Regions from separate parts of the Homo sapiens genome. Here region 1 is linked to region 2. Evidence: promoter capture Hi-C in 16 types of primary human blood cells and fetal thymus (Javierre and others, 2016). All regions are on one chromosome and are shown on one strand. Each heading gives the region's core, a stretch centred on a gene start or on the middle of the fragment in contact. The rest is flanking DNA. Distances are from core to core; before and after follow the strand shown. Region 1 holds the start of ZNF121 (zinc finger protein 121). Region 2 holds the start of PPAN (peter pan homolog).

Region 1 (4,698 bases), core at 1,543-4,042, 520 kb after region 2:
GAGTGCAATGGCGCGATCTTGGCTCAATACAACCGCCGCTTCCCGGGTATAAGCAATTCTCCTGCCTCATCCTCCCGAGTAGCTGGGATTACAGGCGCCCGCCACCATGCCCGGCTAATTTTTGTATTTTTAGTAGAGGCGGAGTTTCACCATGTTGGCCAGACTTGTCCTTCAGAACTTTTTAACTGGAAGATATGCTGCCAGGCTGCTGAGCATCGTCACTTAGTCATATAAGCCCCCTCTTTGATTCCCCTTCTCCTCTGGGAGTCTTTCTTCCTTTCCACCCTTTCTGAGCAGCGACCCACAGGTAGAAGCCTGTGGATATTCTCTTGCTGTTTGCTACCTCCCGCCACTCCTTACCTGTCAAAGCACATCCCAAATGAAGCTTGTGTGCTACTGCCGCCTTGTGGTCACGTCTTTTTCCTTACTCAGCCAAGAAATCACTTACACCCTGAATGCGTATATGGTTTTATTTTTCACATTTAGATCCCTAGTCCATTTAGAGTTTATTCTTGTATATGCTGTGAAGTATGGATTTAATTTCATCTTTTCTCTGATGGCTACCCAGCTGTCTTAGACTTTCCATTACAAATGGCTTTTTTTGCCTCATTGATCTGAAATACCTTTTTTTTTTTTTTTTGAGATGGATTTTCACTCTTGTTGCCCAGGCTGGAGTCCAGTGGCGCGATCTCGGCTCACTGCAACCTCTGCCTTCTGGGTTTCAGCGATTCTCCTGCCTCAGCCTCCCGAATAGCTGGGATTACAGAAAGCCCACCACCATGCTTGGCTAATTTTATTTTTGTATTTTTATTAGAGACAGGGTTTCACCATGTTGGACAGGCTGGTTTCGAACTCCTGACTTCAGGTGATCCTCCCGCCTCAGCCTCCCAAATTGCTAGGATTACAGGTATGAGCCACCGCGCCTGGCAAAATACCACATTTATGAACCAAATTCCTACATGTTCTTGGGTCTGTTTTTAGATATTTTATTAGTCTGTTTCTGCTTCATGTGCTAGTACCACATAGTTTTAATTATAGAGGCTTTATAGTATGTCTTATTTATTTTTATTTTAATATAATTTAATTATTTGCCTTGTGTGAAAACTGTTAATAGTATGTTTTAACATCTGCTGCTCATCATTGCTTTTGTTTTTGTTTTCTTGGTTATTATCAGATATTTATTCTTCCACATAAACTTTAGTATCAACGTACCTAACTCCAGAAAAAACTTTTAATATTTTTACTGGGATTATGTTACATTTCTGAATAAACCTGGGGAGAATGTCTGGTGTCAGTGCTATTTTACAATGTAGGAAATGTGGTCCTGGCCCATGTGGGAAGATCAGAAAAATAACAATAGAAATACATGTTTTTGGCCAGGCGTGGTGGCTCACATCTGTAATCCCAGCACTTTGGAAAGGTGAGGCAGGCGGATCATGAGGTCAGGAGTTCGAGACCAACTGGGCCAATATGGTGAAACCCTGTCTTTACTAAAAATACAAAAATTAGCCGGGCATGGCGGCGCCTGCCTGTAATCTCTGCTACTCAGGAGGCTGAGAGAGAAGAATCGCTTGAACCCGGGAGGCAGAGGTTGCAGTGAGCAAGATCGTGCCACTGCACTCCAGCCTGGGCAACAGAGCTAGACTCCATCTCAAAACAAAAACAAAAACATATTTAAAATTTTTTTTAAACAGAGACGGGGTCTTGCTGTATTGCCCAGGCTGGTCTCAAACTCCTGGCCTCAAACGATCCCTTGGCCTCCCAAATTGCTGGGATTATAGGCATAAGCCACCATACCCAGCCAGAAATACATACTTGATGAAGACAAAAAAAAATCAAGATTTACAGAAAATATTATTATATTGAAAACGTGGCCGGGTGCGGTGGCTCATGTCTATAATTCCAGCACTTTGGGAAGCTGAGGGAGACAGATCATTGGAGGTCAGGAGTTCGAGATCAGTCTGGCCATCATGGTGAAACTCTTCTCTACTAAAAGTACAAAAATTAGCTGGGCGTGGAGGCAGACATCTGTAATCCCAGCTACTCGGGAGGTTGAGGCAGGAGAATCACTTGAACCCGGGGGGCAGAGGTTACAGTGAGCCGAGGTCATGCCACTGCACTCCAGCCTGGGCAACAGAGTGAGATCTGTCTCAAAAAAAAATAAAAAATGAAAAAGAAAAACGAAAAAAGAAAACGCAATGGAACCAGCAGGTTCTAAAAAATAAAGAATGAAGAAATAAAGGCCTACAGAAAGCCTGACTGAATAGAAGAGATAGACCATGCCATTCACTGGCAGCTTTATCCATATGGAAGAATCATGGAAAGGCTCTAGGAACATGAGATGTATACAAACAAGCTTTATATATATGTATACACACATATATATTTTAATAAAGGATGTTGCTATTTTGCCCACGCTGGTCTTGAACTCTTGGACTCAAGCTATCCACCTGCCTTAGCCTCCCAAAGTGTTGGACTTACAGGCCTTAGCCACTGTGCCCACCTGGGAAAAGCTCTGCAGGAGCATCCCCTGGGGTGCGTCCCATCCCCCACGCCCGCCCTTCCAGCAGGTCCGGCCACCTGAACCGCCGGCTAGCCGGGTCCCACCTCTAAACCGCCCCCAAGTAAGGGCCTGTCCGCGCCCACCCGGGAAGAAACTACAATTTCTGTGTTTGACTGGGTCCTATGTGGCTGAAACTCGAACCCAGGAGCCCCGCCCGGCCCGAGGCTCGGAGCGGAAGTGACGTCAGCGCACAATCGCCATCTTTTCCGGCGCTGGCTCCGCATGGTCAGTGCCATTTCGCCTTTATCGTGGTGGAGTCCACCCTGGCTGTGGTGAGTTCCGCCTGCTTGGGGATCCCGGAGATAGCGGGGGGCGGCAAAGGAACGATTGGGTGCTGTCGCCCAGGAGCCTCTCCGATCCGCCTCGTTTCACTCTCTTCTCCAGGGGCTGTCGGTCCTCCTTGCGCGGCCAGTGGCTAGAGGCCGCAGGCTCAGTGGGTCCCAGTCAGGAGCCAGGTCGGGAAGTGTGTTTGTCCCGACTCCGCGCGTTTTCTGGAGTGGTTTCATCCGCTGTGCTCCCTTCTTCAAAAGCTTGGAAAGCAACCTTTGTGAGTTTCTTTCTTTCTGAAAGTAAAAGGATTTCTGCCGTTCCAGTCAGGTTGGCTCCGGCCCCGCATTTCCGCGCCTCAGGAACCTGGCGTTTCCGGCATGTTCCTGGTGAACACCTGCAGAAAATTGGTTTCAAGAGGGCTCTGACTTCCATTTCTTTGCTTAAAAATGTCTCGTCTGAGAATCTGGCATTGATGTCCTATTCTTATTTTTGACACATTACTTTCTGATGGAAAAAAAATAGTCGTTTAGGGTGTGCCTATATCTGCATGTAAATATGAACACGTGTAGACTGTGAGCCTTTAGTTTCTTATTTTATTTTCTTGGACTTAATGTTTTTTGTTGTTACCAGCTACAAGCCTTTCTACAAAAGAAAGGCAGGCTGGGCGCGCTGGCTCACGCCTGTAGTCCCAGCCATTTGGGAGGTCGAGGCGGGCAGATCACCTGAGGTCAGGAGTTCGAGACCAGCCTGGCCAACATGGTGAAACCCTGTCTCTACTAAAAATACAAAAAATTAGCCAGGCGCGATGGCGGGCGCCTGTAGTCCCAGCTACTCGGGAGGCTGAGGCAGGAGAATGGCGTGAACCCGGGAGGCGGAGCTTGCAGTGAGCCGAGATCGCGCCACTGCACTCCAGCCTGGGCAAAAGAGGGAGACTCCGTCTCACACACACAAAAAAAAAAAAAAAAAAAAAAAAGCCAGGCTTGGTGGCAGTCCCCTGTAATCCTAGCTACTTGGGAGGCTGAGGCAGGAGGATTGCTTGAACCTGAGAGGCCGAGGTTGCAGTGAGCCGAGATCTGCCACTGCACTCCAGCCTGGGCGATGAGAGCGAAACTCCGTCTCAAAAAAGAAAGAAAGGCAATAATACACAGCTGTTGTCTTTATCTGAAGTTCCTAGGTCTGTACCCCCCCACAGAGCTTCAAAACGGGCCCACAGGAAGAAAGGATGGAGGCTTTTGTTTGTTTTTTTCAGACGGAGTCTTGCTCTGTCGCCCAGGCTGGAGTGCAGTGGCGCGATCTCAGCTCACTGCAACCTCCACCTCCTGGGTTCAAGTGATTCTCCTGCCTCAGCCTCCGAGTAGCAGGGACAACAGGCATGGGGACCATGCCCAGCTAATTTTTTTTTTTTGTATTTTTAGTGGAGACAGGGTTTCACCATGCTCGCCAGGCTGGTCTCGAACTCCTGACCTTGTAATCCGCCTGACGGCCTCCCAAAGAGCTGGGATTACAGGCGTGAGCCTCCGCTCCTGGCCAGGATGGAGGCTTTATAATCAGAATATTATTCTAGTATTAGTGTAATAAAGTAGTATCTATTGAATTTATTAACAGCATGTTTAGACTAAGTGTAGTTTTGACATTTTTTTCTGAAAAATTTGATCCTAGGGAAAACTTGAACATCTAACACACCCAGTCTAGTAGTTTTTTTTTTTTTTTTTTTGAGACAGAGTCTCGCTCTGCTACCCGGGTCGGGGTGCAGAGGTGCGATCTCGGCTCACTGCAACCTCTGCCTCCCAGGTTCAAGTAATTCTCCTGCCTCCCTAGCATTAGGTGCGTCCATGTGAAGAGACCACCAAACAGGCTTTGTATGA
Region 2 (4,666 bases), core at 720-3,219:
GTGGACCGCTGGGGGAATCTCTGGACACTTTTGCCCAGCATCATCAGACACAGGAGTGGGATTTGACCTCAGGACTCAGCAGACCCAGGAGCTCCCAGTCTCAGCGCTGGGAGGAGTGAGCAATCCATCTGAGGGCCTGTGGCACCTCTATCCGCTGCACCCCCCCATACCTGCCACCTCGCCAGGCCAGACCCACCTTGTGCACGTTGATGGAGGGGAACAGGTTCTGGAACATGGTGGCCATGAGCTTCACATGCATACCATGGGGGCCAAAGCTGTTGAGTACCAGGAGGGGTGGGTGGGCAAACTGCTGCTCGTGCATGCGGTGCCGGCGCAGTGAGGAGACCACATCACGCACCAGCGAGTACTGTAGGACAGGAGAGAGGAGGGGGTGACCACCAACCACACATGGCTGCGGACAACCCCAAGTCCAGCTCCCACCCCACATGGCTTTGTACCACCTCCACCCCTCTCACCTTCTTGACCTGGAAGGTCAAGGTGGGGCCTCCTGGGAGGCGCATCAGCTTCTGCAGGAGAAGAAAAGATCAGTGACTCTGGAGGGGTCTAGCAGAGGTGCCCGGAGTAGGCACCTTTGCCCCATCTCTTCTTCAGAGCGTTTACTTTGAAGCCAGAAATCACAGCAGCTCAGAGGCATATGTGTTCATCATGAGAGATAGGGGAAGGGGGGGTCTGGGGGAGATGAAGGGTGAGGGCGTCTACTCACAAAGTAGACATTGGTCTCTGTTTTGCTCAGGATCAGAAAGTGTGTGACCCCGAGGGGCCCAGCCACTGCCACGCAGTCCTTCAGCGAGTTCTTCTTACGAACCTGGAAATGACAAAAAGAAAAAAAGAAAACATAGCTTATCCCTTGTTGTGACAACTATAAGCTGACGGTGCAGATCCTGTTATGGTCTGTCTTGCATCTGACCCTTTCAACAAGCCCAGAGGAGCAAAAGGATCTTAGCCTTTAGAGTCAGTCGGACGCAGATTTGAGTTCTAACTCTGTCTCTTGCTCACAGCGCATCTTCCCATTGACAAATGAGCGAACTCAGGCCCAGAGAGGTTAAGTAACTTGCATCAGATACTGGGGAGAAGTCAGTTTCCAACCCTGCTTTGCTGCCTCCAGATTCTAGTCTTTTTTTTTCTAACACGGTCTCCTCCGGTCGCCCAGACTGGAGTGAAGTGGCACGATCCCGATTCACTACAGCCTTAATTTCCTGGGCTCAAGGAATCCTCCCACCTCAGCCTCCCGAGTAGCCGGGACTACAGGCACGCAACACCATATCCGACTAATTTTTCTATTTTTTGTAAAGACGGGGTTTCACCATGCTGCTCAGGCTGGTCTCGAATTCCTGGGCTCAAGTGATCCTCCCGCATCAGCATCCCCAAATGCTGGGAATACAGGCATGAGCCACCACGCCCGGCTCCAGATTCCAGTCTTAACTGTCAGGCTTAGGCGACTATCTATCTCCCAAGCTGCGCGCCCTCACTCCAGCCCAGCAAAAGCCCTGAAAGGCAGAAATGATGCTCCCCATGAGGGTCTTTTTTTCCAGCTGGGGAGACTTAAGTCCTCCCACAGTTTTACAGCGGGAGCCATTACTGCAGCTACGAAGACTAGGCCGAGGGTGGGTGGAGGCGGGCTGGGGGTGGGGTACAAACCTGCAGACGGCTGGCAGTGAGCGGCTCCATGACCCGCCGCACGTCCAGGCTGAGCTGCCGGATGTTGCGACCCGTGCAGCCTCGCGTGAACACGAACGAGTGCGGGTTCGCGGCATAGGCCTCGAGGTTGCGGAGCTGCGCCTGGGCGCGGGCGCGCTTCTGGTGCCGGGACTGCGGCGACGAGAGACAAAGGGTCAGCGCCGCGACCTCGGCCGGGACCCCACCTGCGCCACCTGCCTCCCAAGCTGCCGGGCCTTACCCTCCCTGACTGTCCCATGCTGCTGTGTCCTCCACGAGGCCTCCTGCGTCCGCCGCTTCCGGCGCTGCGCAGCTCACTTCCGGCGCCTGAGAGCCGGCACGGCGTGGGACGACATCAGGCGGGCCTGCGCACTAGGTGGCCTCTGGGAGCGGGGAGGGGCAATCAGATGGAGCGGTTGCTATGGAGACACGGGTGCCTGTTTCTAGGGAGACCGGGGCGGGGCTACGCGGCTCCGGGCTGCAGAGAAACGAATCCGCCGGTTCGAATCCCGCTTCGGCCCATTTCCTCCAGCTGGGCTAAAACCACTTTCTGCATTCCGAGGCTCCTAAAATATCCCAAAGTAAGGCTGATAATGTCCCCCGGGCCCACGAATTAGGAGCGACCATGTATGCACAATGTTGGGCGCTCTGGCGCCAAGTACTTGGGGAGAAGCCACCGGAGGGAATGACTGTGGCAATCATTCACTTTAGTCTCGCAACTCCTCTGGGCCAGCTGTCCTCCCCGGGTACCCCTGTCTGCAGACAGGCTGAGGGATGGAAACTCCACATCACCTTCTGGAAACTCAGGGCAAGGCGGGCGTTTCGTGAATAACTCGCCCCCTCCTTCTTTCCGCTCAAAGCCTCAGTCTTGGCCTCAGGCCTCTGGCTTCTTCCCCAAAACCTTGCAGTGGGGGAAAGGGACACCCCCTCACTGGGCTGAACATTACTCTCTCCTCCCCCATCGGCCTCCTCTCCCTCCTTGCTCTCTCTGGCACCCCAATTCTTCCTCCTCTCCCCCAGATGTGTCTCCCCTCCCCCTCGTCTTCCCCCTGTCTCTTTCTCCCTCTTGTAACTTTGTCTCTGTCATCAGTTGTCTCTTTCATCATTTATAACTGAAGATGGAAACTAAAGAAGTTTCCTTTCTCTGTGTCTGGCCCCATCCCTGTTTCTTTCTTCTCATCTGCCTCCCTGTGGTCTCTCCCCATCTTCCCATCTCTCTCTGTCTCTCCCCATCTCCCCGTCTCTCCCTTTCTCTGCCATCTCCCTATGTCTCTCCCATCTCCCTATGCCTCTCCCATCTCCATCTGTCTGACTCTCTGTATTCTTCAGCCCCTCTCTGTGACTTATGAAGTTCCCTCCCTCTCTACTGCCAATGGGGAAGCCAGAGGGGGCTGAGGGTGGGGGGCCGAGGGGCCCAGTGTGGGGGCCCCAACCCAGGCCCAGAGCCCAGCCTGGCAGCCTCTCTCAGATCTGGGACGACCATTTCCTTTTTCAACCCTGGAGTCCACTCGAGTTACTCGGGAGCTCAGGATGGTGCAGACCAGGGGAAGGAGGTGACTCTCCCGGCGTGTGGCTGGTCGTCGGTGGGGCCTTTGGACAGGTCTCAGACCCTGGGCCTGGGCTCTGTGGGGCTCTATGTGAGTTTCTTTGTACCCCTGGGAAATGACTGCATGGTTACTTCCCCCAGTTCCGTCCTCGTGTGATTTGACTTGTGTGAAAATGTGACCGAGTGTGTGGGAGACAGACGGTGACCTCTGTGGTGCGGTGGATAGGTTTCCGGGTGTCAACTGTGTGTACCTGTTTTGTATCTGTGCACTACTGTGTGATCACAAGAACCAGGATGTGGACAAGCCTGACACACAGATAAAGACCCACTCAGCCCACCCCATTTCCCTTTAAGTTGTGATGTGTGTGTGACCATATTTGGAACATACAGTTGTTGCCTGAAACTGTTATGTTTCCAGCTGTGTCTTTTTAAAAATTTTTTTTAATCAATGAGATATCCTTTATTTATGAAAGCATAGTTCCAATGCAGAAGTCAAGCTTTATGGTTATATATTAGGATAGGTTCAGATCCAATATGACAATGTTTAGCACTAACTTTAACATGTTAAAGCTCTGATTCCTGAATGTTTTTCTCACTTAATATATTCTCTCCAATGACAAGCTGGTGTGCTTGGCTTCTTATGCTGAAAAATATATGCCTGAATTCTATAACAAGCTATTAACAAAATCATGAATAGTTAATTAAATAAGTGCCAACACTACATGGAACTTACTGGCCACCAACTCAGAACCATAAAACTACACACACACACACACACACACACACACACCACACACACAAACAAAACAAAAAAAACACCAAAGAAAGATAGCTATCACTGTACATATGAATACTGTCCAGGATATCAGATCAATTATCAAATCCAAGGTCTCTGGTGTTTTGTCTCACAGTGTTGAATATATGAATGCTTCTCTATTATACTGACTTGTATTATTTTCAACAAATAATTATGTGGACTCAAAATCTTACATTTTTATTTCTTTTCTTTTTTTTTTTTTTTTTTTTGAGACAGAGTCTTACTCTGTCGCCCAGGCTGGAGTGCAGTGGCTCACTGCAACCTCCGCCCCCCGGGTTCAAGCGATTCTCCTGCCTCAGCCTCCTGAGTAGCTGGGATTACAGGCATGGGCCACCACACCCGGCAAATTTTTGTATTTTTAGTAGAGACGGGGTTTCACCATCTTGGCCAGGCTGGTCTCGAATTGCTGACCTCGTGATCTGCCCACCTTGGCCTCCCAAAGTGCTGGGATTACAGGCGTGAGCCACCGCGCCCAGCCTTACATTTTTATTTCTAATTATAAAATCCAGATTAATCCAAAAAACATAAATCACATGTAACTGAGGTAGGGTTTTCACTTTAAGAATATATTGTTTCTATCACAATTTAAAAATTTACAGCTGTGTCTTTTATATTTATTTTTTATT

The links. Contacts are between HindIII fragments. The CHiCAGO score rates a contact against its expected background, and 5 or more counts as called.
Region 1: a contact is called between the fragment with the promoter of ZNF121 here and the fragment with the promoter of PPAN in region 2, in 1 of 17 cell types (fetal thymus). The highest score is 6.1, in fetal thymus.

Annotation. Positions count from the first base shown.
Region 1 is chr19:9,582,598-9,587,295 of GRCh38, reverse strand. It overlaps ZNF121 (zinc finger protein 121), which reads left to right and starts at 2,792. Exons shown (of 4, transcript NM_001008727.5): 1 at 2,792-2,835. RefSeq lists enhancers at 2,402-3,213, 4,028-4,698. The HindIII fragment of the contact is 737 bases long and covers 2,359-3,095 here.
Region 2 is chr19:10,103,665-10,108,330 of GRCh38, reverse strand. PPAN (peter pan homolog) reads right to left here and starts at 1,969. Exons shown (of 12, transcript NM_020230.7): 1 at 1,919-1,969; 2 at 1,660-1,830; 3 at 725-826; 4 at 477-527; 5 at 197-367. The coding sequence starts at 1,936. It overlaps PPAN-P2RY11 (PPAN-P2RY11 readthrough), which reads right to left and starts at 1,969. Exons shown (of 13, transcript NM_001198690.2): 1 at 1,919-1,969; 2 at 1,660-1,830; 3 at 725-826; 4 at 477-527; 5 at 197-367. The coding sequence starts at 1,936. SNORD105 (small nucleolar RNA, C/D box 105) reads right to left here and starts at 680; the gene lies at 596-680. It also overlaps a transcript of ANGPTL6 not described here. RefSeq lists enhancers at 1-400, 2,043-2,092, 1,689-2,332 and a silencer at 1,773-1,822. The HindIII fragment of the contact is 12,960 bases long and covers 1-3,722 here.